Linked DNA regions of Homo sapiens: all the other regions are linked to region 3. The links are contacts of gene promoters, found by promoter capture Hi-C in blood cells and fetal thymus (Javierre and others, 2016). All regions are on one chromosome and are shown on one strand. Each heading gives the region's core, a stretch centred on a gene start or on the middle of the fragment in contact. The rest is flanking DNA. Distances are from core to core; before and after follow the strand shown.

The links. Contacts are between HindIII fragments. The CHiCAGO score rates a contact against its expected background, and 5 or more counts as called.
Region 1: a contact is called between a fragment that was not itself captured here and the fragment with the promoter of TM2D3 in region 3, in 1 of 17 cell types (naive B cells). The highest score is 5.4, in naive B cells.
Region 2: a fragment that was not itself captured here is called in contact with the fragment with the promoter of TM2D3 in region 3 in 1 of 17 cell types (total B cells); the score reaches 5.5 in total B cells.

What each region holds. Positions count from the first base shown.
Region 1 is chr15:101,037,481-101,042,536 of GRCh38, forward strand. The region is part of intron 20 of LRRK1 (leucine rich repeat kinase 1); the gene reads left to right. It also overlaps a transcript of LRRK1-AS1 not described here. Among named protein-coding and RNA genes, the nearest start is that of LRRK1-AS1, 110 kb to the right of the region's middle. The HindIII fragment of the contact is 823 bases long and covers 2,298-3,120 here.
Region 2 is chr15:101,123,972-101,128,862 of GRCh38, forward strand. All of the region lies in intron 1 of LRRK1-AS1 (LRRK1 antisense RNA 1), which reads right to left. Among named protein-coding and RNA genes, the nearest start is that of LRRK1-AS1, 25 kb to the right of the region's middle. RefSeq lists a silencer at 2,885-2,934 and enhancers at 3,225-3,274, 3,565-3,674, 3,885-4,054. The HindIII fragment of the contact is 1,094 bases long and covers 2,423-3,516 here.
Region 3 is chr15:101,651,058-101,656,014 of GRCh38, forward strand. It overlaps TM2D3 (TM2 domain containing 3), which reads right to left and starts at 1,324. Exons shown (of 6, transcript NM_078474.3): 1 at 1,214-1,324; 2 at 639-716. The coding sequence starts at 1,304. TARS3 (threonyl-tRNA synthetase 3) reads right to left here. Exons shown (of 19, transcript NM_152334.3): 19 at 2,539-3,673. The coding sequence ends at 3,525. RefSeq lists silencers at 912-1,471, 1,712-1,901 and enhancers at 1,562-1,621, 1,728-2,618. The HindIII fragment of the contact is 10,431 bases long and covers 859-4,957 here.

The sequences.
Region 1 (5,056 bases), core at 1,459-3,958, 610 kb before region 3:
CTCAATGGTGTGTACAGGTACCAGCCATGGTAGGCAGGAGTGAAGTGATCCCCAGGCCAGCAATGGAATGCTCAGGCTGGGGACATCAGTGGCCACACTGCTGCCCTGCCACTGGGGAGGGTGGGCCACCTTCAGTGGCAACAGATTAGGCTGGTGGGTGGGGAACATATGCCACTCACACCTTAGCCTTTAAGGTGGTAGCCTATGCCTCACTCACACCTCAGCCCCAGGGGTAGCAGCCCACATTTCTCTTGCACCTCAGCCCCAGCACCACTGGGCTCCCGGACAGTACACAGTCTGTTGGGGACAGGGCTGTAAAATGGCTCCTTGCAGATTTCTTAAAGAACTAAAAGTAGGTTACCATTTGATCCAGCAATCTCACTACTGGCTATCTACCCAGAGGAAAAGAAGTCATTATACAAAAAAGATACTTGCACACACATGTTTATAACAGCACAATTCCTAATTGCAAAAATATGGAACCATCCCAAATGTGCATCAATCAATAATTGGATTAAAAAAATTGTGGTATATATACACCATAGAATACTACTCAGCCATATAAAGGAATAAAATAATGGCATCTGCAGCAACCTGGATGAATTGGAGACCATTATTGTAAGTGAAGTAACTCAGGAATGGAAAACTAAACATCATATGTTCCAAATTATAATTGGGAGTTAAGCTATGAGAATGCAAAGGCATAAGAATAATACAATGGATTTTGGGGACTCAGGGGAAAGGGTGGGAGGGGATGAGAGATAAAAAACTACACATCAGGTACTGTGTACACTGCTCAGGTGATGGGAGTGCCAAAATCTCAGAAATCACCACTGAAGAACTTTATCACGTAACCAAACACCACCTGCTCCCCAAAGCCCTATTGAAATTAAAAATTAAAATATAAATAAATTGCCTCCTTAGTGTGGCTGCTCAGGTCTCAGAGAGTGTGAGACCTAGAGTGAGCACCCTCCGAGCAGTGCCATTGCACAATCTCCCATCAGTTAGTTTCAGGGCCCACAAAGGGTGAGGGGCTCTCCTGTGCCTTGGATTTCAGGAGTCCAGAGTGGGAATGTCGACCACTGGGGATCTCTCACTTACCTTTCCCCACACTGGGGAGTCTCTCTCAGCTCTCAGCCTAGCAGGCTGCCTTGCTTCCTTGTCCTTCCTTGCCTTAGGTATTTCCTGTCACTTTTCTGTTGAATTCCAGTGTTCCCTCTTGGATGATCTATTCAACGTGTGATTATCTACTCACTATTTTGCCTCTTCTCAGTGTCAGAGGCAAGTCTGAAATGCCTCTAGTCAGCCATCTTGAAGCCGTCCCTCCCAGCAGCATGGCACCCTGCGCCAGTGGCCATCTTGCCTTCTTCTGTGCAAATCTCTCTCTTCCCCCATCTTTTAAGCACACTTGTGGCTGCACTTAAGGTCCACCCAGATAATGTGGGATCTTTCCCCCATTTCAAAGTCCATAACTTAATCACATCTACAAAGTCTCTATTTCCATGTAAGGTAACAATCACAGTTCTAGGGTTTAGGACCTGGATATTTTGGGGCTCATTATTCAGCATATGACACCCTCCAATTTTGTTCTTCTGTTTCAAGATTATTTTGGATTATTCTAGATCCTTTGCATTTTCATCTAAATTTTAGAATCAGCTTGTCTGATTCTTAAAAAACCGTTGTGATTTTTATGGAGATTACATTGAATCTATAGATCAAAGAAAGCTGACATCTTAGAAATATTGAATCTTCCAATATGAACATGGTATATCTCTCATTTATTTTGGTTTTTAAAAAGTTTCTCTCCACGGTGGTTTGTTTTCAGTATTCAGATTTTCTGCATCTTTTGTTAAATTTGTGTCTACATAATTTATGTTCTCCGATATGGGTAAATGACATATCTTCTAATTTGATTTCCATTTCTTGTTGCTGGTATACAGAAATATAATTTATTTTTAAATATTTACCTTATATCAAAAAACCTTGCTAAATTCACCTATTAGCTCCAGTAGATTTTTCAGGATTTTCTAAGTATGCTTCTTTTTTGAAAAAAAGACAGTTTTACTTTTTTCATTCTAATCTTCACATATTTTTTTGCTCTGTTTGCCTGATTGCATTGGCTCGGATCTCTAGCGAAGGTTTAAATAGAAGGGATGAGAGAAGGCGTCATTCTGTGTGATCTCAGGGGGGAAGCATTCAGTCTTTCACCATCAAGTGTGATGTTTTCTGCAGAGCTTTGTTATCCATGGAAACTTTATCAGATTGAGGAAGTTCCCTTTTATTCCCAGTTTGCTAAAAGCTTTTATCATAAATGGGTACTGAATTTTGTCCCCCAAAAATGCTTGTTCTGCCTCTGTTAATTTTTTTCTTCAGTTATTTTTCTGTTAAATATGTTGATGGATTTTCAAATGTTAAACCAACTTTGTATTCCCAAGATTCATACCAAGTGTTCATGATTTATTATCTTTTTTATCTAATGCTAGATTTCAGTGGCTCCTATTTTGCATAAGAATTTTTTAATCTATGTTCATGAGGGATATTGGTTGGTACTTTGATGAAAAGTCTTTATGGGTTATCAGACATAGGCTGTCTTCATAAAATGAATTGAAAAGATTTTTTTCCTTCTCTATTTTCTTCAAGATTTTGTATAAGATTGGTGTTAGACCTTCCTTAACAGTTTGATAGAATTTATAGCCTGGAGTTTACTTCACAAGAGGATTTTTAATTACAAATTCAATCTATTTATTAGCTATAGGGTTATTAAAATTTTCTATTCTTGTGTCAGTTTTGGTAAGTTATTTTTTTTTCAATAAATTTTTTCATTTCATCTATGGTGCAGAATATATTAATATAAAGATATTTAAAATATCTCTGGAATGTGTAGTGATATGCTCTCTCTCCTGATATTAATAATATGTCTTTTCTCTCATTCTTTCTTGATCAGTCTTGCTAAGTGTTTATCAAATTTTTGGAACCGTTTTAAAGAACGAACCGTTGCCATTGCTGATTTCTTCTATTATTTTTCTCTTTTATTTCATCTATTACTGCTCTTTATTATTGTCTTCCTTCAGCTAACTTTGGGTTTAATTTGTGCTTCTTGTTCTTCCTTCTTAAGGTAGAAGCTTAGGTCATTTATTTTAAGCCTTTCCTATTTTCTATGTAAGCATTTAAAGCCATAACTTTCTAAGCACTGCTTTATATGACAAATACAACTAATTTTGCTATGTTGTGTTTTTATCATTTAGTTCGAAAGATTTTCTAATATATCTTATATTATTTTGGTCAGAGAATATATTCTAAGATTTCTGTATTTTGAAATTCACTGAGACTTATTTTATGGGCCAATGTGTGATCTTTCCCAGTGAAAGTCTGGAGTGCACACAAGAAACGAGTTTTCTGTGTTGTGGCTGTAGTATCTTATAAACCTTAATTAGCTCAGAGTGGTAAACAACGTGTTCAAATCTTCCGTATTCTCACTGATTTTTTTCCTACTCATTCTATCAATTACTAAGAGAGAGATGGTAAAATATCTAATGATAAGTCTACCTCTCTCTCCAGTTCTGACAGGCTTTATTTTATATATTTTGAAGCCATTATTGGTTACATATACACATTGGTGTCATGCCTGTGTAATGAAGTGACCCTTTTTTCATTATACAATGTTTCTCTTTATCACTGGTAATACTCCTTTTCTTGAAGTCTATTTTGTCTGATGTTAAAATAGCCACACCAGCTCTTTTAGTTCTACCTGGGTTTTTTCCCTATTCTTCTAGTAGCAGGTTATGATCTCTATAAAAAAGGAATCTCTTGCTGACAGCACATTATCCAATCTGATAATCTCTGCCTTTTAATAGGAATATTTGATTCATTCACATTTATCATAATTAATTATATGGTTGGGTTTAAGCCTACTATTTCTCTATTTATTTTGTATTTATACCATCTGATTTTGTTATTTTGTTCATTCTTTCCTGCCTTCTTTTGAGTTAAATTTTATTTTAGTATTTTCATGCTCTCTGTTGGGTTTTTGGCCATTCTTCCTGGTACTGTGTTTTAGTGGTTACTCTTGGGATTAGAATATGCATCCTTACCTTATCACAATCTACTTGTAATTAATATTATACCACCTTGAATTAAATGCAAAAACCTTAGCACGATACCAGGACATTACTCCTCCCAGCACCCTCTGTACTCTTGCTGTCATCCACGTTTCTTCTATACAGTAGTCCCCCTTATCCACAGCTGGTGGATTTCCAGACCCCCGTGGATGCCTAAAACTGCGATAGTATTGAGCCCTACATATACTATGCCTTTTCCTTTATCTACATACCTATGATGAAGTTTAATTGTAAACCAGTAAGTGATTAACAACACATAGAAATTAACAACAATAACAACAAAACAGTATAATTATGATATACTGTCACAGAAGTTACATAAATGTGGTCTCTCTCTCTCTCTTTCTAAATATCTTGATATTTTTGGACCAGTAATTGAAACCATGAAAAAGAAACTGCAGATAAGGGAGGACTACAATATATGTAATGAACCCCATAATATAGTGTTATTACTTTTGCTTTGAATAATTAAACAATCAATAGTCTTTTAAGAAATTAAGGGAAAAATGTTGATTGTTTCTGGTGCTCTTCACTTCTTTCCATCTGGTATAATCTCTTTTCATCCTGAAGAATTACGTGTAGCATGTCTTAAAGTCTAAGTCTGATGGAAACAAATTCTCTTTTTTAGACAAGACTTTTGTTTATATGAAAATGTCTTTATTAACACTCTAATTTTTTGCTGGATAATTTTCTTCGATGTAGAATTCTGGGTCATTTTTCTGTCAGTCTTTTTAAAGGTGTCACCCCATTGTCTTCTGGGCAGACAGGGGTCCTCCTCAGTCTTCGTCACCCCTGACCCCTCGCTGAGGACCTCTGACCCCATGCCACCTCCTCTCATGTGATCAAGGATGCCCAGCCACCTGCTCTGCTGCAGCCCAGGGGCCTCTGAGAAGCCTACTGCCCCTCCGAGAGCTCTGCCACCATCCTCCTGTGGCTTT
Region 2 (4,891 bases), core at 1,720-4,219, 530 kb before region 3:
CAAGAGGGAAGAACAAAGGCCTGCCACTTAAATTTTTGAAAATAAGAAGTTGAGGGAAAACAGAAATAAAACTTCAAGTAGCTACATCTATGGTCAATTGATTTGCAAGAAGTGTGTCAAGATAAGTTGATGGGGAAAGAATCATCTTTTCAAAAAATGGTGCTGAAACAAAAGGATGGATTTGGACTACTGTCTCACACGACATTAAAAAATTTACTCAAAATGGATCAAAGACTTAAATGTAAGAGCTAAAACTTAAAAACATCTCAGAAGCAAACAGACGTCAATCTCCTTGACCTTGGATTAGGCAATGGTTTCTTTAGATTAGATACCATCAGCAACAAAAGAAAGCAAACCACCAAGAAAGTGAAAGAACGATACAAATAATGAGACAAAATACTTGGAAATAATGTATCTGATGAAGACTTCCTTCTAGGATGTATAAAGAATTCTTAAAACTCAGTAATAAAAAGACAAAATAACCCAATTCAAAAATGACTGAAGGAATTGAATAGACATTTCTCCAAAGAAGACATACAAAAATGGCCAATAATCACATCAAAAGTCATTGGAAAGGCAAATCAAAACCACAGAGGCTGGGTGCAGTGATTCATGCCTGTAATCCCAGCACTTTGGGAGGCCAAGGCGGGCAGATCACTTGAGGTCAGGAGTTCGAGACCAGCCTGGCCAACATGGCGAGAGCCCATCTCTACAAAAAAATACAAAAAAATTAGTTGAATGTGGTGGCAGGTGCCTGTAGTCCAAGCTACTCAGGAGGTTGAGGCAGGAGAATCGCTTGAACCTGGGAGTGGGGGGATTGCAATGAGCCAAGATTGCACCACTGCACACCAGCCTGGGTGACAGAGCAGAACTCTGTCTCTGGGAAAAAAAAAAAAAAAAAAAGGAACCGCAGTGAGAGACCATTTCACACCTACTAGAATGACTCTAATTTTTAAAGGGCAGCTAAGCGTTAGTGAGGATGTGGAGAAATTGCTGGGACTGGATATACACTCACAAAAGGACGAATCCCTTGGCGGTTGTTCAAAACGTTAAACATAGTTTCCACATGACCAGCAATTCCACTCGTAGGTCTATGCCCAGGAAAAATGAAAACCTCCATTCACACAAAATCTTCTACATGAATCTTCATGGGAGCATGATTCACAATGGCCAAAAGGTGACAATAACCCAAATGCCTAGCAGCTGACGAATGGAGAAGAAAATCTGGTATAGCCATACAAGGGAATATGATTCAGGAAGGAAAGCAAAAGGAAGGGAATTCTGACATGCTACAATATGGAAGAACCTTGAAAACATTACGCTAAGGGAAAGAAACCAAATGCAGAAGTCACCTATTATATGATTTCACTTCTATTAAATTCTGAGAATAGGCAAATCCATGAAGACATAGACTAGTGGCTGCCCAGGGCTGAGGGAAGTGAAGAGTGACTGCTCGTGGTATGGGGTTTATTTTTCAGGTGACAAAGATATTCTAGAATTAGATAGCAGTGAAAGCTGTACAACCTTGTGAGTACGGTTAAAGGAAAAAGAAAAAGCAAACACTGAATTGTATACTTTAAAACAGTGAATTTTATGGTATATCAATTATATTTCAGTAAATGAGACAAAACATCTGCAAAAGATAAAACTTGGGCAACTACTATATTTTCTCTAATATTTAATTTTCTTGATTTGTTCCTTAGTTTTAAATTAATAATTTAAAAAGAACATGTTTCCAATTTTAAATATATCATTCCAATGTAGTAAAATATTTCATATATGAACTAAAATGTCCCCTCACCTTGCAGTTTGTGCTCTTGTACTGTTTTTTGGGGTTGTTAGTTTGTTTTTGAGACTGAGTCTCACACTGTCACCCAGGCTGGAGTGCAGTGGCGCGATCTCGGCTCACTGCAACCTCTGCCTCCTGAGTTCAAGGGATTCTCCTGCCTCAGACTCCCGAGTAGCTGGGATTACAGGCGGCTGCCACCACGCCCAGCTAATTTTTTGTATTTTTAGTAGAGACAGGGTTTCACCATGTTGGTCTGGCTGGTCTTGAACTCCTGACCTTGTGATCCGCCCACTTCGGCCTTCCAAAGTGCTGGGATTACCGGCAGGCATGAGCCACCGCTCCTGGCCTCTTATACTGTTTTAAATGTTAAACACAAACAAGACTTCAATGGTCACACAGAATACAGAATTGAAGTAACTTAAGTTCCGAATCTTCCTCTTTCCGATCACTGTGCTATTGTTGCTTCGTCAAATCTGCTGTTTAAATGTAGGAATTCACAGCACCCTGGGGCACTGGAGACGTGAATGATGTCCAAAGTGGCTTCAGACGGCTCACAACTTACTTTTGAAAAGCACATTTCTGGACCGACTTTATACCTGGGAGTTCTGAAATTAACTTTCACTTGGAATACAAAGCTTATCAAAGGATAATAAATAAAATCATGTTGATTTGAAGTATATATATATATACATAAACCCTCACAATTGTTTAGAATTTAGATCAACAAAATATTTTCCCTGGCAGGAGTATTTAATCATGCCTGGTAATTAGAAAAACAAACAACAGCAACAAAAACACCAGTCGTCTGACTTAGTAGATTTTATTATTGTGACTTCAGTGACAGTGTGTCACCTCGCTGCCTGAACCCAGGCCCACAGCTCCCACTACCCCGCCCTCACTTTCTATTTCCCTAGCGCTTTGAAGATTCCATTTTACCCACCGCAGGAGAACATTATGAGGCTAGGTAATATAATCCCCATTTGACAGATGAGAAAGCAGGGGGCCCAGAGAGGCTTATCCAAGGGCCAGCAGGAGGGGACAGAGCCTAGAAGCTGGTTCTGCAGGGCTCAGCTCCCACTTCTCAGGGCACAGTCCCGACTAGCCCCTCTTATTAGTGACCGTGGGTGGGTCTACTCCCCACAGTTCCGGCTGCCAGACTTACCCAGGCTGTGCCTCATCCTCGCAGTACCTACCTGCTCTCAGCTTGGAAAGAACCTGGAAATTCATTCACACCCAGGTTCTGAGGGCTGCTAACAGGCTTCTTTCCCAAGAGGTAATTGCCTTTATCAAAGAGGGTGCTCTTTAATGAGCTGAAAGAATGCCTCTGCAAGTCGGGCCTCCTCCCTAGGCTGCTGGGATCACTGGTACACATCTGTTCTCCCCCATCTCACCTCAGGAGTAGTTTGCTCCCCAGGGAGGAGCCCTGCCTGAGAGTAAATCCAAAGAGACGTCCCACAGTTAACTCAGCCTCAAAAGCATTTGGAGTTGCAAACTAAATGACATAGTCTCATGACTTGTGTCTGATTCTGTGGATCTAAGAAAATCCAGTTTCTCCCTAACTAACGCCAGCATCCTACAGCCTAGCCTCTGCCTGGTGAACACAGACAGCCTTGCCGGGGCCTGGCAGAAGGAGTGCTAAGAGGACAGGGCCTCACAGACCCTAGAAGTGGGTCTCACCCTTCTCAGCTCACTCAGATGCTTTGTCTCCAGAGTTCTCAGATTTACAAAGCTTAATGAGTGCCAATTTACTCATTATTGTCCTCCCAGGCCTCACAACGCATTAAAATCCTTCTGCACAGACAGATTAGGAGACAAGCCTAAGGAAAACGTACATCTGCTTTAAAAAAAAAAAAATGCAGTTTCAGGTTCCACTTTACATCAGCCAGGGTTTAGTTACAGGAAACAGAAACCACTCTAACAATTTTAAGCAAAAAGGGGTTTAGACAGGAAATTAGGGGCTTACCGTTTTATTGAGAGGCATGGGCCAGGCCTATTGGCGTGGTGCCCGGAAAAAGGCCTGGGGACCAGCCGGCTGGGCTCTGCTAGCCTGACTCCACTCAGCCAGGTGGGGGTCGGGAGGCTCCCAGTGCTGTACCATACCTGCCTCTTGACCCCACAAAGGGACTGAATGGACCCTGGAACGCTGCCACAGGAAAAACAACCACCACAACTTTGCTCGCCAGCAGAAACGGCCAAAAGCAGCAGGAGGAGAGTCTTGGCCTCTGAATCATAGTGGTGTGCGAAGAATTGGCAGGACTATGGATGTGCTGGAGCTGGCTCAGCCTAGTGACAGCCAACGGTGCACGGCAATTCCAATTCCAGGTCCAGGGACACCAGGGGATAGCAAGATTGAAATTGACCACAGTGGATATATTTACACCATGGAAATCAGCAAGCACTAACAGCCGGGTTGCTTTTGTTTTGTGTTGTTTTTTTGTTTTTTTTTGAGAGCTGGTTGTTAAACATTGACCACCGGGCATAACCCATTTCACATTTAGAACTCTAGCGGCAAGGGAAGCGGGAAAAGCAGTGGCTCACCTTCCAGCCTTTGAAGGAACAGCGAGGAGAGCACACAGAATGCTAGCTGCCAAGCCGTCCTCCATGACACACACTCCTAGGAATGTACCCTGCAGTAAATTTGCACATGTGTGAGGGATGAATGGCTGCTGATGCTGCACTTTGCTAGTAATTACGTGGAAGCAACATTTCTTAACGCAATTGCTCTTGAGCATATGTGAAGTTTATTAACCCTGGAGCTAGGGAATTGGCAAGGGGACAGAAGAGTGGGTTGGTTCAAAGATGGCTTGGAAATTGTTGATTTGTATCTACAGGGGGGAAAGAATGCTTGCATAAGCAGCTAATTAAGAAGAGGCAGCTAATAAGGTCAAGCTTACAGTTTCATTTAACATGATCGTTAAAACGTCATTTCCCTATCGGCTGGAACAAGCGAGGTTTGAGGCACAGTAATCTTGGGGGTGATTTCTAGAGAGGCCAACCTTTCATCCGAAATAATAAGAAACACATCCAAGGTGCACTTCATCTGTGGCTCTTAATTAGACAAAGCTACACGGTTTTGTGCCCCAGCTGAGCTGGACGAGAGCC
Region 3 (4,957 bases), core at 74-2,573:
AATGCTTGTTTAAAACTGGTCCTACTTTACTCACTGTATTAAGGAACAATTCTACAAAATACTCTTTTTGATCCCGTGACTATGTGGCTGGAAGGTGGACACTTAGAATCACAAAGCAGAAATGACTTTAGGTCGTCAGACCAACCCCACCGCTTTAAAGATGAGGACCAAGGTCCAAAGAGGATAAATAATTTGTTCAAGATCCCAGTAGCAAAACCAGATCTAGATTTCAAGTCTCCATCAGTCCCGCTGTAATCCTTCCATTTCCACAGTCCTGAGGGAGCCTTTAATATTCCAACATCAGGAACAGGGTTTTAGCAGTAGAGGAAATTTGCTGAAGGGAAAGAAGCACGGACTGAAGGTTATTTTGATGGATGAAGTGGAAAAATAATAGAAATAAGGTGACAAATGAGCGTGGGATTGGAAAAAGAGAGGAGGCAGAAACGTCAAAAGGTATAAATACGAAGACTATCTACTGAAAATGGCTGTGTATCTACCCTTAATTCACATAATCTAAAATACAATAAATATTCAAAAATGGAAAGTGACTTCGTATACTAAAGGGAATTTTTATAAAAACAAAGAGAAACTACTAGAGATAACTACATGTATTTACTAGAATAGAAAACGTCTAGTACCTGCTGCCCTGGGAACTACTGTGAATGTGCGTGTTGGGCCCGGATCCTTTATTGACTGAGCCAGCGCCTGCGATTGCTCTAAATTTAAGGATCGTACAATTAGAGAAACACGTTATCCCGGGACAAGAAAACCTTATTTTGTGTGGTTAACACGGCGGGTCTACACCAGGCCAATAAGCTGCTCATGAAAACCTCACGGCTGGTCAGCCAGAAAACACAAAGCTTAGGGACGAAACGTCAACAGAGTAGACATCAGTTCAGGTCAGCCGGCAACGAGGGACCGAAGGATGACATCGCGCTCCAGTTCCGCCTCCCCGGCCCAGCCCCCAAGCGCTCCATCTCCGTGCCAGGGCTCCGCAGCCGCGATGGCGGGCTCGGTGTCGCCGGAGCGGAGGGGCGGCCTCGGGCCGGGCGGCCAGGGCGCCAGACTCCAGATGCAGCGACAAGCGGCCCGGAGCCCGGCACTCGGCCTCCTCCCCGCGTCAGCGTCCGCCCGTGGGCCCGGCCTCCTCGCAGCTCCCGGGGCCCTGCTGCCACTCAGCCCCACCCGGCGCTGAACCCAGCCTTTGACTCACCACCGCCCGACAGAATGCAGAACTGCGAGAGGAAGAGCAGCACGCGACACAAGGCGCGGAGGCCCCTCAGCGGGAGCACCCCTCCCGCCATCTTGCCAGCGCCTGCGCACTTCCGGGCCGGGGGGCGGGGCGCGCCTGGGAGCCGGAGCGTGAACTGGACGCAGGCGCGCTGCGACTCCTGGCGGCCGGCGTTTGCGCTTTCGCTGTCCTCGCGCGGGTCGCGGGTTTTCTTCCGGTTGAGCCTTCTGGGAGGTCCCCGAGGAGGATGCGAGCCTGGGAGGTTGTTCCATTTCCACGCGCCCCTCACGCCCTTGGACGAGGCCCTCACCCCTGGTTCCACTGCAGGAGACCTGTTAAAGGTCATCCGTGGACCGAAATGCGCGCCCGAAGCAACCAAGAGCAGAGGCGGGCGAACGCGGGAGGCTGGCCGCCCCAGTGTGTGGTCGGATGTTGTGTGCTGGATCTCGTGCGAAGGTTCCGAGGACACTATCGCGTGGCGTTTCATCCTAAAGACACTTATTTACAGTCGGGGAAGCGGCCCCGGGACGACGAGGGCCCGAGGGACCCCTCCCCTGGGGCCGGCGCTCAGGCCTGCCGCGGCTTTCACTTCTGGCCGGCCTCTTGAAGATACGCAGCACTTCCAGAAAGTTCCTCTCAGGCCTGGAGAAGCAGGATGGCCCGAGGCGCTGGGAAGTGAGGGGAGGGTCCAGAGCCCAGCCCTGCCTGGGGAAGGTCGCGGCCGTCTGGGGAGCCGCGCTCAGGCCCCAGCTTGCGGAGACCCTTGCCGGTTTCTGTCACAGCACACCTGGGAGAAAGCGCTGGTGACAGGTGCTCTCCTCCCACCCACGTGCTTCGGGATCGTTCATTCCGCGGTCTTCTGACTACCACCCCCTCACGTGCATGTTTGCTGAATGACTTTTTAAAAAATACATGGAAAAGTGCCGGCACATAAGCCCTGAATGTTAGCTTTAAAAATCGTATCACGGCCGGGGGCGGTGAATCACGTCTGTAATCCCAGCACTTTGGGAGGCCCAGGCGGGCGGATCACGAGGTTAGGAAATCGAAACCATCCTGGCTAACAACACGGTGAAACCCTGTCTCTACTAAAAATACAAAAAAATTAGCCAGGCGTGGAGGCACGCGCCTGTGGTCCCAGCTACTGGGGAAGCTGAGGCAGGAGAATCGCCTAAACCCGGGAAGCGGAGGTTGTAGTGAGCCGAGATCGCGCCACTGCACTCCAGCCTGGGTGACAGAGCGAGACTCCGTCTCAAAAAATAAATAATAAAAATCATATCACACAATCTGCACCTTATACTACTACACAAGCCTGATATATATTGTTTTGTTTGCCAACTGTTTCACTGTTCACATCCCTCAGGAAGTTAACTAAATGATCAGTATATTGAAAAGAGATTATTTCTTACATTTCTTTTGAATTTCACAGCATATCGCAAAATAAACAATACTTCTTGTTTGGTAGCTGAATTCTCTATTGACATAATGCCATTTTAATTCAGTTCTGAGCACGTAGAGCATTCCTCTCTTTAAAATCTGAAATCCATTTCAGTACATAAATCCATGGAATGTCATCCCATCAAAAAAGTAACAACTCTAGGTGAGCGGCTTAGTGGTGGTAGAAGCCCACAGCTGAAACGCTGGAAACACTGATGCAATTCATTTGGGAATTTATTTTTTTCTAAAGCGGAACAAAACCTAATTATGAATAAGAAACATTTAAATGGCAACTCTTAACCTATAGTGCAAACACCAGATTCCACAAAACTGAATTCCTTTGTCAGTAATCCAATATTTAGCAGTAGCTGCTGCTTTTGTGGTTGTTGGTTAGTTAAAATTAAGTAATGATTCCAGTTTAGAAGATAAAGTTTCAGTGTGAATTTTAGTAGAAGTCATAAAAATACCTGAGACATATTAGAAAATAAGATTTTCCCTCCTATTTAAAAAAAACTCTGCAGACTTTTATTTGAAGCCCATCTTTTGAAAATCACTAACATTTCATAATCATTTCCTAGTGTTTTGTTTCACTTTCTCGATGAATAATATTTCCCCATTTAAGTTTCTCAAGGCATTGATTGCTGGAAAATTTCCCACGTGCCCTCTAAACGTCCCCCGTGGACATGAGTAAATTAAACTTCGTGCATGTCAGCTACACGTTCATCGTCTCCTTTCTCAGCTGAGGCCATGAGTGGACCCATCAGTGGCTCCAAAGTCGTAGAAGTACTAACATGTTAAGAAAAATACATTTTTAAGGGTCAAAACAAAGTTACACAGAAGCAAATATCAGGGAAGGACTTCAAAAGGCCTCCTCAGCATTGAGTGTCCGTGTCTTCCTGAGATTCTTCAGTTTATCAATGGCAGAAGTTACTAAAATCTCTCCATGAATTTTGTTGTCTCTTGTTCGCACGTTTACAGCATTATCTATCTTTTCCTTTTCTCCAACCACTGCAGAAAAGAAAGGTAAAGAAATGTATTTTAAATCAGCAATTTACCAAACATTAAGTCAGCAGTCCCATGACATGTTTTTATCAAGTTTTTCTTCACTAATATTAAATATCATCTAATGAGCATTTGGTTCATCCTCTGATAGTTAAGTTTCTTGAGGGAAGCAATGACTTCTGATCCCATCTCTCTATTGTCCACCTGAGAGAACAGCTCTTGTGGTCCTGGGGTGCAGATGAGAGGGGGGAGCTCTTACAGACTCACACTGACTGCACCTGGCACTAGGGCGCAAATGAGAGCGGGGAGCTCTTACAGGCTCACAGTGACCCCACCTGGCACTAGGGCGCAAATGAGAGCGGGGAGCTCTTACAGGCTCACACTGACCCCACCTGGCACTAGGGTGCAAATGAGAGCGGGGAGCTCTTACAGGCTCACACTGACTCCACCTGGCACTAGGGCGCAAATGAGAGCGGGGAGCTCTTACAGGCTCACACTGACCCCACCTGGCACTAGGGTGCAAATGAGAGGGGGGAGCTCTTACAGGCTCACAGTGACTCCACCTGGCACTAGGGCGCAGATGAGAGGGGGGAGCTCTTACAGGCTCACACTGACCCCACCTGGCACTAGGGTGCAAATGAGAGGGGGGAGCTCTTACAGGCTCACAGTGACTCCACCTGGCACTAGGGCGCAAATGAGAGCGGGGAGCTCTTACAGGCTCACAGTGACTCCACCTGGCACTAGGGCGCAAATGAGAGCGGGGAGCTCTTACAGGCTCACACTGACCCCACCTGGCACTAGGGCGCAAATGAGAGCGGGGAGCTCTTACAGACTCACAGTGACTCCACCTGGCACTAGGGCGCAAATGAGAGCGGGGAGCTCTTACAGGCTCACAGTGACTCCACCTGGCACTAGGGCGCAAATGAGAGCGGGGAGCTCTTACAGACTCACAGTGACTCCACCTGGCACTAGGGTGCAAATGAGAGCGGGGAGCTCTTACAGGCTCACACTGACCCCACCTGGCACTAGGGTGCAGATGAGAGTGGGGAGCTCTTACAGGCTCACACTGACCCCACCTGGCACTAGGGTGCAGATGAGAGCGGGGAGCTCTTACAGGCTCACGCTGACTCCACCTGGCATACCTGATGAGCCAAGGAGTGGACACCAGACCCATGCGAGCCAGCCAGAACTTTCTGGAATGTGGGTAAAAAGTTTGTTCTCTCTAGTGACCCATATTGTGAGATGATGCAGGAATCTACAGCCATGCTTCTTGCCACACAGAAGGAAGAA